Linked DNA regions of Homo sapiens: region 2 is linked to region 1. The links are contacts of gene promoters, found by promoter capture Hi-C in human tissues and cell types (Jung and others, 2019). All regions are on one chromosome and are shown on one strand. Each heading gives the region's core, a stretch centred on a gene start or on the middle of the fragment in contact. The rest is flanking DNA. Distances are from core to core; before and after follow the strand shown. Region 1 holds the start of PIGN (phosphatidylinositol glycan anchor biosynthesis class N). Region 2 overlaps PHLPP1 (PH domain and leucine rich repeat protein phosphatase 1).

The links. The method cuts DNA at HindIII sites, captures the fragments that hold promoters and counts their contacts. A contact is called where the count stands out against the background at its distance.
Region 2: a fragment that was not itself captured here is called in contact with the fragment with the promoter of PIGN in region 1 in 1 of the 25 tissues and cell types used here (dorsolateral prefrontal cortex).

What each region holds. Positions count from the first base shown.
Region 1 is chr18:62,181,792-62,188,696 of GRCh38, forward strand. PIGN (phosphatidylinositol glycan anchor biosynthesis class N) reads right to left here and starts at 5,265. Exons shown (of 31, transcript NM_176787.5): 1 at 5,053-5,265. It overlaps RELCH (RAB11 binding and LisH domain, coiled-coil and HEAT repeat containing), which reads left to right and starts at 5,464. Exons shown (of 29, transcript NM_001346231.2): 1 at 5,464-6,240. The coding sequence starts at 5,715. RefSeq lists silencers at 4,767-4,979, 5,930-6,149 and an enhancer at 5,570-5,779. The HindIII fragment of the contact is 6,487 bases long and covers 2,879-6,905 here.
Region 2 is chr18:62,936,401-62,944,258 of GRCh38, forward strand. PHLPP1 (PH domain and leucine rich repeat protein phosphatase 1) reads left to right here. Exons shown (of 17, transcript NM_194449.4): 11 at 5,318-5,518. Among named protein-coding and RNA genes, the nearest start is that of PHLPP1, 220 kb to the left of the region's middle. RefSeq lists an enhancer at 5,587-6,786. The HindIII fragment of the contact is 4,162 bases long and covers 3,542-7,703 here.

The DNA of each region.
Region 1 (6,905 bases), core at 4,015-6,514:
TCTCGGCTCACTGCAACCTCCACCTCCCGGGTTCAAGCAATTCTCCTGCCTCAGCCTCCCAAGTAGCTGGGATTACAGGCACACAGCATCATGCCCAGGTAATTTTGTATTTTTAGTAGAGACAGGGTTTCACCATGTTGGCCAGGCTGGTCTCAAACTCCTGACCTCAGGTGATCCACCTACCTCATCCTCCCAAAGTGGTGGGATTACAGGCATGAGCCACCATGCCCGGCTGCCTTCTCCTTTTTAATAGGCTGTTATCACTTGGCTTCTATGAACATTACTGCTTTCATTTTTCACCTACACCTCTGACCAATGTTGAACAGTCTCTATCTGATCACTAAATTTTGGAGTTACTCAAAACTTGGTCCTCAGCTGTCTTTTCTTCTCACTCTATACTTTCTATCCTGGCAAGTTTCATCATATCTGTGGCTTCAGTTATTACCTAATATGCAAAAGCCTCAACAAATTATAGCTCCAAATCCACATATGTAACTCGAACCTTTATAAATCTACATGGACGTTTCAAAGACACTCAACTAAGTAGGTTTAAAACCAAATTCATAACATTTCCCATGAGCCTTGTCTACTACCTACTAAATCCTTAGTGTTCACAATCTCAGTAGGTGGCACCACCTTCCCACCAAGTATGTAAGTCTGAGAAATAGGCATTGTTCTTTACACCCTATTCTTCCCCTTTATTTAATCTAACAATTGTCCACTTTGTGTTTCTTGAATCTGTTCATTTGTCTTAATCTCCATTGACACCTCTATAATTTAAGATGTATACCATCTCTTATGCGAACTACTGCAATGCAGGAATAGGTCACCCCTATATACTCTAACCCTTCTCTGATCCATTTCTTGCCATGTAGCCAGAGTATTACTTGCTTTTCTTTTTTCAAAAGAAAATCTGAACATCTTACCCCTTGTATAAAACTCTCCAGTGCCTTCTGTGAAGCATTCACTGTCTTTAAAGTCAAAAGACACGTTTGCAACAACACGGATGTTCCTGAAGCCTGGTATGCTAAGTGAAATAAGCCAGGTGCAGAAACACAAATACTGCATGATTTCACTCCTATGTGGAACTTAAGAAAGTTGACCCCACTGAATTAGAAGCAGAATGGTGGTAACCAGAGGCTGGGGTAGTTCCACAGCGGGGGGCAATTGTAGAGATACTGATCAAAGCATTCATATTAGAGTTAGATAGAAGGAATAAGTTCAAGAGCTCTGTTGTACAGCATGGTGACTCTAGTTAATGATGATATATTGTATTCTTGAAAACTGCTAAAAGGGTAGATGTTCAAATTTCTCATCACAAAAATGATAACTATGTGTAAGGTAATGCATTTGTTACTTAGCTAGATTTGAGCATTTCACAATGTATATAAACTGAAGAACATCATGTACACAATGAATACATAAAATCGTATATTAAAAAATAAATTTAAAAATGAAGTCACAGCTGGAAAAAAAAAACTCTCCAGTGCCTTTTCACCTACTAATCTAGACTAAAATCCTTAATGTGACTAACAAGGTCTTTTATAGACTAGCCTCTGCCTTCTTTTCTAAACCTGTCTCATAGCACTCCCCTTTACTTTGTAACATCTCACATCACTGGCCCCTTCTTTTATTCAAGTATCCCACTGCTATAAGACCTTTGTAGGCTCAATTCCTCTCTGCAGAATGTACTTGCAACCTATCTTCCACTCTCTCCTAACATTCCATTTCAAGCATCACTTCCTCAGGGACTATGCAGGTGAAGTCAGAAACGAAAACTTTTACTTCAGTTTGTAATTACATAGCTTTGTCTACGACTATTTGAATTAATGTCTGTCTCTGTCACTTCACCACAATTCCATGACAGCAGGACGGGGCATCTCCAACACCCATCAGAGTCTTATGCACTTAGTAAGGACTCAAATGTTTGCTGAATAAATTATTTAGAATTATCATTTCAAGGGTAAATGCAATATGCACTACAGCCACTAGAGGATGCCCTGCTTCTGTTTTTGTTCCTCCAGAACAAGATGTGAAGACTGAAAATACTTTAAAAAAAAAAAAACTAAACCTTTTATGATAAAGTAATTTACTATTAATGTAAATAAAATTGCAGTTATTACAAAATATCAGCATTCACTAACTACTTATTTTAATTAGTTTAATTGCTTAATACTAAATATTACTTAATACTTCTCTTTAAAGAAAATCACAATTTATTCAGATTTATTGAAAAAGAAATACCTCCAAAACAAACACATAACTATTAAAATTTTAAAAAGATATATGCATGTACCAATACAAGTTATCTAGTTTATCTGTGGATGTTTACCACACACTGAAAAACAATAAAACATGAGGTATTACTAAAACCTCAAGTCAACCAAAACTTGCATTCAGAATATTACTTGTGGTTCTTTTAAGACTATTAAAACCTAAAATAATTTTTTAAATACTAAAATGATTGACGTGCTTTGAAAAAAGGCATCTTTTACATCTTCATTGCTAAGGCACAAGCTTTAATAACTATCATTAGTCAGATGAAACATTAGTTGTAAGGGCCTAGATTAATGAAAATCTTACTAAGTAGAAAGGAAATTTCCCAACACTATTAATAATACATTATTATAAGTAGTGATCGGTAATTTTTAATATTCCAGTGTGTGTTACTTATACATTATTCACGAATAACCAAACCTCTGTGTATTGTGGAAAAGAAAAGTACATACTGGGAAGACTGGGCAGTTGATTTCTAATGGGCTTACAAGATCAAACACACAAGTTCATGGTTATAGGATAGGAGGCAGAAATAGAAGCAGAAAACCACAGATTTGTATGGGAAGAATTCCTCTACATGCAAGTTCTTACAACTCTGAGGAAACATTTTAAATCTATTTTCAACTTGTGTTTTAGAACTGAGACCCCAAATTAAAGATACTCCCTTCAGCCCTACTGACTTAATTGCTTTTTCAGGCTTGCACTGCCAAAACGATTGATATTAGTTTTATTTTTAAACACTTGTCAAATGTTCTCAACACATACTAATATTTCAATAATTAATAAGTGACCACAGTAATAGTTATTGTGTAGCAGGTACCAGGCACTGGGACAAGAACATTCTCAATTCTGTGTACTTTCCTTATCCCCTTTGATAGACGAATGCAAGTGAGGCTGAGAAGTTAGGTAACTTTTTCAAGGTCTCACAATAAATAATGAGTAGAATTGGGATCTGAACTTAAGCTTTTCTATCTTATAAGCATAATCCTCTTCAGGAATCCTAAATGCAGGAGATTTCTCAATTTCCCAATCATGGAGATGGAAATATTGTATATAAACAATCCATTTCTAATCATGCCCTTCCCATGCCATTCACTAATCCTCCATTCCTGGATTCCAGAAATTGGTTCCATTTTAATCTCTCTGGAAAATCCAACTAAAATACGGATCAGCAATCCCTTTTGCTAAGAAATCTCTAACAGGATACAGTATTTGCCATTTCAATTCTATTTGGGGGGATTTTTTTCCCCATGTTTTACTTTTAATATATGGCACAGAAAACTATTTATCATTAAAACATTGGGAACTAATGTCCTATAAAAAAATAGTTTAAATTCTTGGTACTTTTTTTTTAAACTTCTAGCAAAAATAAAATTTTAAAAACCCAAATCCCCATTCAAATGAAAATTTTAGTTTATTGAGCCTGGGTATATTGAAATTAAAGCCTACTCTTAACTGTTGGCATACTTTTACATGTAAACCAATAACCTGACCTAAGGTTATGTAAGAATCGTCTATTTTAATTTTTCCATGGAGCTAACGGGAGATACTTTACTGTGGAATGTTTACTACACACTGAATGTAATATGTCACTTACCTGTACACTAAGAAAGGAAATCTAAAGCCTGGAAAAGTGGTCATTTGTGTGTGAAAAAAATAGGAGCCATAAGAAATAGCAGTCTAATTGTATTGACTGGAAATTCCTTTACCTTTTCAGATCATAATCAAGGAATGACATAAAAGATAAACGTTGATCTTCTAAACTTAGGATATGTACTTTATATGCTAACATTTCATCAAAAAAATCAAAACTCTCTGAAGCATTCAACTTTTAAAATAGTTCTAAGTTCCAAAACCTTGATTCTAGCCTGCATGAACGAGTCAGAAATGTTGCAGGAGACAGTGGATAAAGAATCGTTTGGGACATAAGAGAAATGATGTTAATTCCTTTGACTCCTTATTAGCGGAATTGATTTTTTTTTTTTTTTTTTTTTTTTTTTGAGACGGAGTCTCGTTCTGTCGCCCAGGCTGGAGTGCAGTGGCGCGACCTCGGCTCACTGCAATCTTCGCCTCCGGGGTTCAAGCGATTCTCCTGCCTCAGCCTCCTGAGTAGCTGGGATTGCAGGCTTGCGCCACCACGCCCAACTAATTTTTGTGTTTTTAGTAGAGAAGGGGTTTCACCATGTTGGTCAGGCTGGTCTCGAACTCCCGACCTCGTGATCCGCCCGGCTCGGCCTCCCAAAGTGCTGGGATTACAGGCGTGAGCCACCGCGCCCGGCGTGGAGCTGATTTTATAACAACCACTCTTGGCTTAAGTTTACTTATCTGTCTACTGGTGAGACAGCATTAGATATTCTGAAGGGTCCCTGTTGTGTAAATCGTGTATTAAATCCTAAGCGTTTATTGAGTACCTAACAATTTGTTTTCCAACTCGACGATGTTCCCAGATCCAGGCAAATGCCAACCTCAGCGTTCCCTTTTCCGTTTAGTCTCTCCAGCCCCCGTCCCCACCCACAGGCAGGACCACCTCCGGGGCTGAGAAGTCGTGCTGTCGCTAGGCCTCCCGAGTGTGCAAGCATGTGGCAGAGAAGGGAAAAGAAAGGAAGTCACATTCCGACTACAGGCCTGGGCACTTGCTATCCATGGGGACAAAATGTCACCACTGGCAGCAAATAGCGAGAAAAAGTGCAGCGCAGTAGGGAAACAGCGCGTCCGCGGGCGCGACACCACAGTTTGGGCGCCGACACCCTCCGCGCACTGGTCCCTGAACTTTACCTGGAGCTTATCCCGGTCAGGCCTGATCTCGAAAACGAGGGCTCCTCAGCGCGAAGGCAGGACCCAGCTCCATTAAAGCTCTCGGGCAGTGGTCCCCTCTACCCACTGAAGCGATAGCCGGGAGGGTATTCCTAAGCCACCACTACAACCACCCCTCAATTCCGGAACGCCCCCAATACCTGCCCGGCCGCTGCTGCTATCGCGATAATTCTCGGGCCAGTCTCCCGTCAGTCCGCTCCACGCCTTCCTTCTCTGACCAATCATGGAGGAGTCGTGGGTGGAGTTTTGCTTTTGAGCGGAGAGCGGGGCCTTCAATCTTTGCTATCTGGCGCTGGGAATGGGCGGAGCTGAAGTGGGCTGGGGCGGGGCTGGGGCGGGGCTAGATCGGGGAGAGGGGCAGGGGCACGCTCCAGTTCTCGCGAGACTGGAGACCAGGAAGACGCCTGCAGAGCCGGGCTGCTGGTGCAGCAGAGGCTGAGGCATCAGGTGCAGCTGCATCCGGATCTCCTGCCTTGGAGCGTACTCCTTGTCTCTAAGTCGGGAGGCAGGACGTGGTCAGGCCGGGGCTGTGGAGGTGCGCTGTGTCCCCTGAGGCCTAGAGGATTCGGGCTGCGGCCCGTCGGAACCAGTCAGGGAGGCGCCCACACTCCTGACAGGATAAGATGGCGGCGATGGCGCCTGGAGGTAGTGGCAGTGGTGGCGGCGTGAATCCATTTCTCAGTGATTCGGATGAGGACGATGACGAGGTAGCTGCAACAGAGGAACGGCGGGCAGTACTTCGGCTGGGCGCCGGAAGTGGCCTAGATCCTGGCTCTGCGGGCTCGCTGTCGCCACAGGATCCCGTGGCCTTAGGAAGCAGTGCGCGGCCAGGGCTCCCTGGGGAGGCGTCGGCGGCTGCAGTGGCCCTGGGGGGCACCGGGGAGACCCCGGCCCGATTATCAATTGATGCGATCGCTGCTCAGCTGTTGCGCGATCAATACTTGCTGACCGCCCTGGAGCTGCATACCGAGCTGTTAGAGAGTGGCCGGGAGCTGCCTCGGCTGCGCGACTACTTCTCCAATCCAGGCAACTTCGAGAGGCAAAGTGGAACCCCGCCGGGGATGGGGGCGCCAGGGGTCCCTGGAGCAGCCGGCGTTGGGGGCGCTGGAGGTCGGGAACCGAGTACAGCGTCGGGCGGGGGACAGCTCAGTAAGTGGACGCAGCCTGTCACACTCCGGCAGGGTATTTGGGATTGTACGGAGTTACTGTAGGGGAGAGGGGGTATTTCTGCGTGGGTCCCGATAGGGACATTTTAAGGAACGAGAGTATTGGGGTGGGGGCGCTCTTTTGCGGTGGAAGCAAGAGGATCAGGCAATGACTGTTCTCTCTGCCTGCTTCCAACCCTTGGCTGGTGTTGCACTTGGCTCCTGGCTCCCCTACTGGTGTCAGTATCTATAAAATATCAAGAGTTTCTAGTTCACTGGCTATTACGGGACTCCAGAAGGTTCCCTTTTATACTAGTTTATTGCTTTAAGCATTTTCCTTTTTCTCCAGTTACCTGAATCACACTACCAGGAAATAGTGTTACCTGAATTGCCTGCAGTAGTTCTTTGAGTCTGAGCCAGGAGAGAAAGAATAGGACACACTGCTGCTGTCTCCGAAAAGTCAGATGTACTTAAGACCCTTTGTCTTTGGGACGACTTTTTCACCGCCAAAATTGGGTTTTCTGCTGCACAAAATTTGTTCTGTTGAGATAAAGTTGATGTAATTCAGTTTCAATGCCTTAATTTAAGTAATGTCCAAAATTACAGGAAATCCAAGGAGCAAGGCAGACAGGTTCTACCAGCAGTCTGTCTCACCATCCCACCACCTTG
Region 2 (7,858 bases), core at 4,373-6,872, 750 kb after region 1:
GGCAAACAACACAGAAATGATTGTTACAAGCACAAATGCTAAATTAATGGGCAAAAGTATGAGAAACAGAAGAGTTTCATAGTCTCAAATGATCTCTCCACACGTTATTTAATTACAAAAGAAAAAATTATTACTTTGCAGTGGAGATGCTTGGCAGACACCACCTTAACCAAGTAATCAAAGTTAATATCTCCAATAATAAGACATTGGCCTCACATATATCCTGATGTGATGCCCTGAGAAGGGCACAACCTCTGCGATATTTTTGCCAAAAACGCATGACCTTACTCTAATGATGATGAAACATAAAACCTAAATTGAGAGACATTTTACAGAATGTTTGTCGAGTACACTTCAAAAACATCAAGGTCATCTAAGATAATAAGACTGATTGGAGAAGAAAGGAGGACTGATAATGAAATACAACGTGAAGTGTCAGCCTTGTGAAGATAGATGGAACTGTCAAAAGTACTTTGTTATAAAAACAAGCAATAATAAGAAACTTGGAATGTTTACACTTCTGGAATGCTTCGGAGACAGAAATCAGAGGGTTGCCTAAAAGTAAGAGTTTTGCTGGGGTTAGACAGTTGTGACTATGTAGAGTTTTAATGGTATATAAGTCCCAGTACAGATTTCCAGAAAAATCATTTTTACAATACCTGGTATGTCTACAAATAGATAAATCTGTTATGGTACCAAATCCTGTGCCCTGTTTCTAAGAGAATTTGGCTGTAAAATTTAAGGGTGTGCTGGAAATTACTAAAAAGCAAACAAAACAAAAAATATATAGATGAGTCAAATGGACAGAATATGCCAAGGAGAGCAGAGCAATTGCTCAAGAAGCAGGAAATGGATTTGTCTCACTGTTGTTGCGGGTGACTTTCCAAACACTTTAGGGCAGGAGCCATATCTGTGTGTCTTTTCTCTGAGACTTTTGAACTCTATGCTGAGAGAAGTTCTTGAGTACTGTGCTATTTACTAACTTGTTTTAAGAATTGAGTTTGAAATGCTGTGCACACGTGGTCTTCACATTACATGCAGGTGCCCTGCTTGACCCTCCAGCTCTTTTAGAAAAAAAGGACCTATGAAAATGTCCCCACAAAAAGGTTTTTATAATTATTTTTCAACATTTGAATTTTGGAGACACATGGTAGAAAACTGTGGACTTGAGACTGATGAAATCCGAGTTTTATTTCTGTCTCTGCCACTAGTTACTATTGAGCCATTGCCAAATAATGTTACTTTCTCAGCTTTGAGTTTTGTCTTTCGTGAAATATGAGAGGTTATATCTCTGGGGTGATGGAAAAATCAAATGAGATAGAAAATAGTGGCCAGGTGCAGTGGCTCACACCTGTAGTCCCAGCACTTTGGGAGGCCTAGGCAGGTGGGTCACTTGAAGTCAGGAGTTCGAGACCAGCCTGGCCAACATGGTGAAACCCTGTCTCTGCTAAAAATACAAAAATTACCTGGGCATGGTGGTGCATGCCTGTAATCCCAGCTACTCAGGAGGCTAAGGTGGGAGAATTGCTTGAACCTGGGAGGCGGAGGTTGCTGTGAGCCAAATGCCACTGCATTCCAGCCTGGGCAACAGAGCAAGACTCTGTCAAAAAAGAAAATAAAAAAGAAGAAGGAAGAAAGGTCTGTGGTGTCTGTGGAATCTACAAAGTACCTTACAAATGAAAAGAAAACAGTCATATGTTACTGCTTTTTCTCTAATTAGAAGAGGATTGCATAGTGAAAAATGTTATATGGATGAAGCATGAAACAGCTGTTGGCACATTAAACCATCTTTTTTATAGTATACTTATTACAAAATTCTGTAAGGAAGAAGCTTGAGGATAGTTATCACATCATACAGAGTTGAGACCTGACTCAGCCCTTTAAGAATTCAGCTTTTTTGCAAGGTTGAAAGCAGAGAGTGGGGTTCTGGAGCCTATTTATTTACTAAAATTGTTAACCATCCTGGAGAAACTTTGCAAAACTAAAGTATTTGTTCGTTCTGGTGGAAGGATGAAATGTAGACTATTAAACCAATTTAAATTGTCTCCTGCTGAAACATTGTGAGGTTTTAGGAAGAATGGCTTAAGTGAATGGGTATTGAATTTAATTTTCCTGATACTATGATAATAAAAAATATTTTTAGTCCAATTGTTTGCTCTTTGACTATTAACCAGCAAGGTGATTAAGTCAGACTTTATGCAGTTCAGATGATGTCCTTTGGAACCACTTCATGTGGTTTCAACTAACTAGTTTCATTTCTTGGAGGTGGATGATGCTGGCAGTTTCCCCCTTAATTTTGCATAAAAGGTATATAGTTCCTTAATTACAGACAACTTTCAAAAAGATGAGAGGATAAATCTTTGAGGAAATCACTTTCTTCCCTTTATTCAGATGCCATGAGGGGTTTTTTAAGTTGCTTGGCAGCTTTCTAGATGAGCATTCACTTGTCTGTTTTTAAAACATTCCCTCTTTTTCTGGCCTAAAAAATATGCAAACATGAATTCACTTTGTTTTATCGCATGTGTTTGTGTGTGTATAACTACATATTTCCTAGAGAATTCTATTTTTGTCTTTTTTCTTTCTTTCTTTCTTTCTTTTTTTTTTTTTGAGCCGGAGTTTCGCTCTTGTTGCCCAGGTTAGAGCACAATGGTGCAGTCTTGGCTCATTGCAACCTCTGCCTCCCGGGTTCAAGTGATTCTGCTGCCTCACCCTCTCGAGTAGCTGGGATTACAGGTGCCTGCCACCACACCCAGCTAATATTTGTATTTTTAGTAGAGGAGGGGGGTTTCACCATGTTGGCCAGGCTGGTCTCGAACTCCTGACCTCAGGTGATCCACCCGCCTCAGCCACCCAAAGTGCTGGGATTACAGGTGTGAGCCACTGCGCCCAGCTGAGAATTCTATTTTAATGAAATTATTTTATATAGTTTCCCAGCCAACACTAGTCCATGATATTTTAGGGCAATAAAATTTATTTCTTACATTGTAATTTATTCTAATGCTACACTAAAGAAATTCTTAACAGGAAATAAGGTGGTCTAAATGGGATCTAAAGAAACAGACTCATAAAAATACTCTAAACAGCGATGGTAAACAACTATGTTGCTGAAACTTGTTTCCTTCCTACTTCAAAACCATTTCAGAAACTGCAGGAGTGACCTTTATTTCCTTCTCTGTAGCACACACGACTATAATTTCCCGTGACTATTTATGGTCTGGATAGCCGTTCTCTAACTTCCTTTTTTTTTTTTTTAATGTCAACGGAATACGTGTTTCTTTAATGGAAAATGTTCTATTTTGGGGAAGCTGCTTTTCCTCAGATAAGTAATGGAGTTGGTGCTTGTGTGTTGAAGGGGTTGTACAAGATTGAAGAGTTTTAAATTAGTGGACTGAGAGCTTGAAGTGACAGTCCTGGTGAGGACTCCTAGTAGCCTTTTTTTTTCTCTCCAAGATTAAAAATAACTGCCTGGTATTCTGTATTCTTTTTAAGGATGATTTTATTCTTTTTTTTTTTAACAGATGGCAGAATAGTCCTGAATTGAATGGTGAAAGTTTCAAACCAAAGTGATTGAAATGAGGGAATAGTGTGGTTCATCAACAGGGTTGATCTGGGGGCCAGGGGGAGGCATGGGAGATTTCACCCTTCTAACTCTTGTAGGCAAGTGCTATGTACTGAGCACTGTCTCTTTCCCACCTGCTGCAGCTGCACAGTTGGACATTCGTCATGAATCAGGAGGGTCATCTCTGACTCTTGAGGGTGACACAGTCCGTCCCTTTGGAGTGATTTGGAACCTGATCACAGCAAGGATTTGTTGCCATTCCCCAGCTTTGCAATGTGCATTTAACTACATTTCACAATCACCGTGGAGGATTTTTTTTTTTTTGGGCAATTTTACTTATCTTAGTTATAAAACCATTCTTTATATTTTATCCACGTTTCTTTTTCTTTCTTTTCTTTTTTTTTTTTTTTTTTTTTTTTTTTTGAGATGGAATCTCGCTCTGTCGCCCAGGCTGGAGTACAGTGGTGCGATCTCCGCTCACTGCAAGCTCTGCCTCCTGGGTTCACGCCATTCTCCTGCCTCAGCCTCCCGAGTAGCTGGGACTGCAGGCGCCCGCCACCACACCCGGCTAATTTTTTGTATGTTTAGTAGAAACAGGGTTTCACCATGTTAGCCAGGATGGTCTCGATCTCCTGACCTTGTGATCCGCCTGCCTCGGCCTCCCAAAGTGCTGGGATTACAGGCGTGAGCCACCACGCCTGGCCTTTATCCTCTTTTCACTCTAGCATCTGAAAAGTGTGGCAGCAATATATTATCTTGTTTGTTTGTTTTAATGTAAAATTTATTTAAGTACAATATAAATACAGAAAAGAGGCCAGATCATAAGTGTAGCCCTTGATGCTTCGTCTCAAAGTGAGCACACTTGTGTAACCAGCACCTGGACTAAGAAACAGAACATTACAATATTTGAAACGTTACACGCCGTCTCCTGGATACTGCCTCCTTTCCCTCCCCACCTAAGAGTTACTGCCATCCTGACTTCTGTTACTACAGAGTAATTTTGCCTGACTTTGAACTTTATATAGTTATGGGATCATGCAGTGGGTCTCCTCTTGTATCTGGCTTCTTCTGGTCATTATGTGTTTGTGAGATTCATCCTGTTGATACATGTTGTTTTAGTTCTTTATTCTCATTGCTACATCATATTATGTTGTTTTAATAGAGAGCAAATTATCTCCTGCACTTGTGAAAGCCAGTAAAATGTGCTTTGGACTTTATACTGAAGAGGACTCAAGTCACTATGTGATTTAGTTGCATTGTGATCTAATACCTGTTTTATTACTATAAGAACCATTTATTTATTATTTATTTATTCACCTAATTTTTATAGAGGCAGGATCTTGCTTTGTTGCCCAGGCTGGTCTCAAACTCCTGGCATCCTCCTGCTTTAGCAAAAACTTTTGATTACAAAATAGGAAACTGTTTTTCTCTTCCTTAAGTCAGAATATTAACTTTACCATATCACTTTCTCTTCCACTCCCCGCCAACTATAAAAATAATTGCTTCCCCTTACCTTTGTGCTTCCATAAAAATTGGTTGTATCTCTGTGTTTAATACATATAGATAGCTATTGTGGTCATGATAGTTAGTGAATCACAGATACAAATACTTGCTAATTGAACTCCTTGAAGCCAGGGCTTGTCTTTTCAATTCATGTTTCTGATCCCAGCTTCTAATATGCCTGGTATCAAAGCTTTTAGGTTTCTTGAGGGTTTTTGTGACTTTTCAATGGCATTTTGTTGCGTTTTGTCATTGTAGCCTGAGATTCCTGAACGCCTCTGCGAACAAACTGGAAAGCCTTCCTCCAGCCACGCTTTCCGAAGAGACAAACAGTATCTTACAAGAGTTGTATTTGACAAATAACAGCCTCACAGACAAATGTGTGCCCTTGTTAACGGGACACCCCCATTTGAAGATCCTTCACATGGCCTATAACCGACTTCAGAGTTTTCCAGCAAGGTAAAGGACAGTTGTAAAGCTGCGTTCTGAATTGCATTTCTCAAAGTGTATTCATAGAAAGGTGAAGGCTGAAATATTTATTTCCCAGGTGATGTCAAGTTTGTTTGCTTGTTCCTGCTCCCTTCACAGTTTCCTTTATGTAAGCTATGATGACATTTCCCTAAAGAGAAGTAGATTGGTTTTCTTCATATGTGTCCAAAGACCTAATCACAAGAATGTTCTTAAGATTTTGAAATAAAATGTGTTGTTTAGCAGGTATGTTTTTTCTTTTACTTCTTTTTAACCAGTCAGATTAATTTTTTAAAAAACCATTATCCTAGAGCCAGGTGTGGCAGTGCGTGCCTGTAGTCCCAGCTACTCGGGAGGCTGACATGGGAGGGTCACTTGAGCTGAAGAATTCGAGACCAGCCTGGGCAACATAGTGAGACCCTATCTATTAAAAAATAAAGTAAATAATAAAGTTTCCAAAAACATTAACCTAATAGGGTATGTGGGAATTAGAATGTAAACCAGGAACCTGAAAATCCTTCATTATCTACCAAACTTTATATTCATATTCATGATGTACAGAGCAGTGGTAGACTCTACTACCATAGAAACTGTAACATTGCAAATTCTGGCTCTCAAAATAGTCCATTTTTAATTTGTTTTTACTTTAATTTCTAATTTTCGGTGAGCGGTGACATTATATCTAGCTTTGAGTGAATCTGCGTGCTGAGCCTGCCGTGAGGATTTACCGTGTTTCCATTTCATTGGCTTTTATCCATCTAACAAGTTAGGGCTTGAACACACACCCACGCATCAAAGAAACAAACACTAACCCTTCTGGTTTCTGCTTGGTAACTGCAACTCAGCATTGGGGCCAAATCAAAACACTATCATAGCTTCCCTCTGCTGCCTTCAGGGCTACCAGTCTGTTCGAGCCCTTGCTGAAGAAGGAAGGCCCGTGTATATGTTGACTTAAAGTATTGCTCTGTTTTTGGTGTAATGAAATATTTACTTTCCTCCTCATTTGATATTAATAATTAAACTATTTTATGCTTACTTCCATCTACTTTTACTTCACTATGGAATGGGGAAATGATATTTTTGGAAAAAACCATGATAATCACATAACAGCAACCTATCTGAAAGAGCTCATTGTCTTCTTTCAGATGATGAATGTCTAAACCCTGCAGAGGAAAGGATCATCAGCTCTAATTCTGAGGATATACCCCCAGTGACCCGTGCCAGGTGTAATCACCCACCCTAAGTGCAGAGAAACTTTTAACACACCTTGTAAAAAAATCCATCTAGGAATGAATTCTGTCTCCCTGTGGTTGTGATGTGGCTCAGTAGCTCCCCTGCAAACCAGAGCACCTTAAGAGCTGGGTCTGTGACCTTGCTGTATCCCTCAGCCTCATATCTCACACAAGGCCCACACTTAAATGGTTGCTGAATTAAAGAACGGGACCACCATCTAGTCATTTTGTCTTCACATCTTTTGCCACCTTCTTTTTATGTGGCGAGTTGGAAATTTCTTTAACTTTTTCTTTTGGGGGCCTGTTTTCTGTGCTTTTAATCATTTTTCATGCACCATTACCCATTAGTTTCAAGGCACACAAGGGCTGGCATCTGCTTCTGGTGAGTCTTCAGGAAGCTTACAATCATGGCAGAAGGTGAAGGGGAGCCATTGTGTCACATGGTGAGAGAGGGGGCAAAAGAGATGCCAGGGTCTTGCGTGAATGCACAGCGTGTGAATTCTCTGATTACCATGGGAAGGGCATCAAGCCATTCATGTGGTATCTGCCCCCATGACCAAAACACCTCCCACCGGGCCCCACCTCTGACACTGGGAATCACGTTTCAACATGAGATTTGGAGGGGACAAATAATCCAAACCGTATCACTATATTTTTTTCAAAATATGATGATAACATATTTAAATAATATTCTCAGAAATTCGGGCTATCATAGATGGATTACTTCATAGTCTGTGTACATATTGTTTGTAGTCTATTCTGATACCACACTGGATGTATATGATATTAAAAGGTCTGACTTCATAAGATAAAAACTTAGTTTTTACTGTATCTTAGGCATATATTTATTTTCAAGATAAACAAGATAATCTTTATATTTGAAAGATGACAAAAATAATACAGTGGTTTTTTTTTGTTAAATTCTTTAAAAGTGTATTGTGACAAATGAAACTATAACAGGTAGAAACAATACCAAAAAATGTAAACTATTATTCAGCTTATGAGTCTGGATCACACTAATGGGGAATCCTGTGCTTCTTGGAGTCTAACATCAGCAGGAGTGGAAAAAGGGTCAAAAAAGTGCCAGATACTATTACAG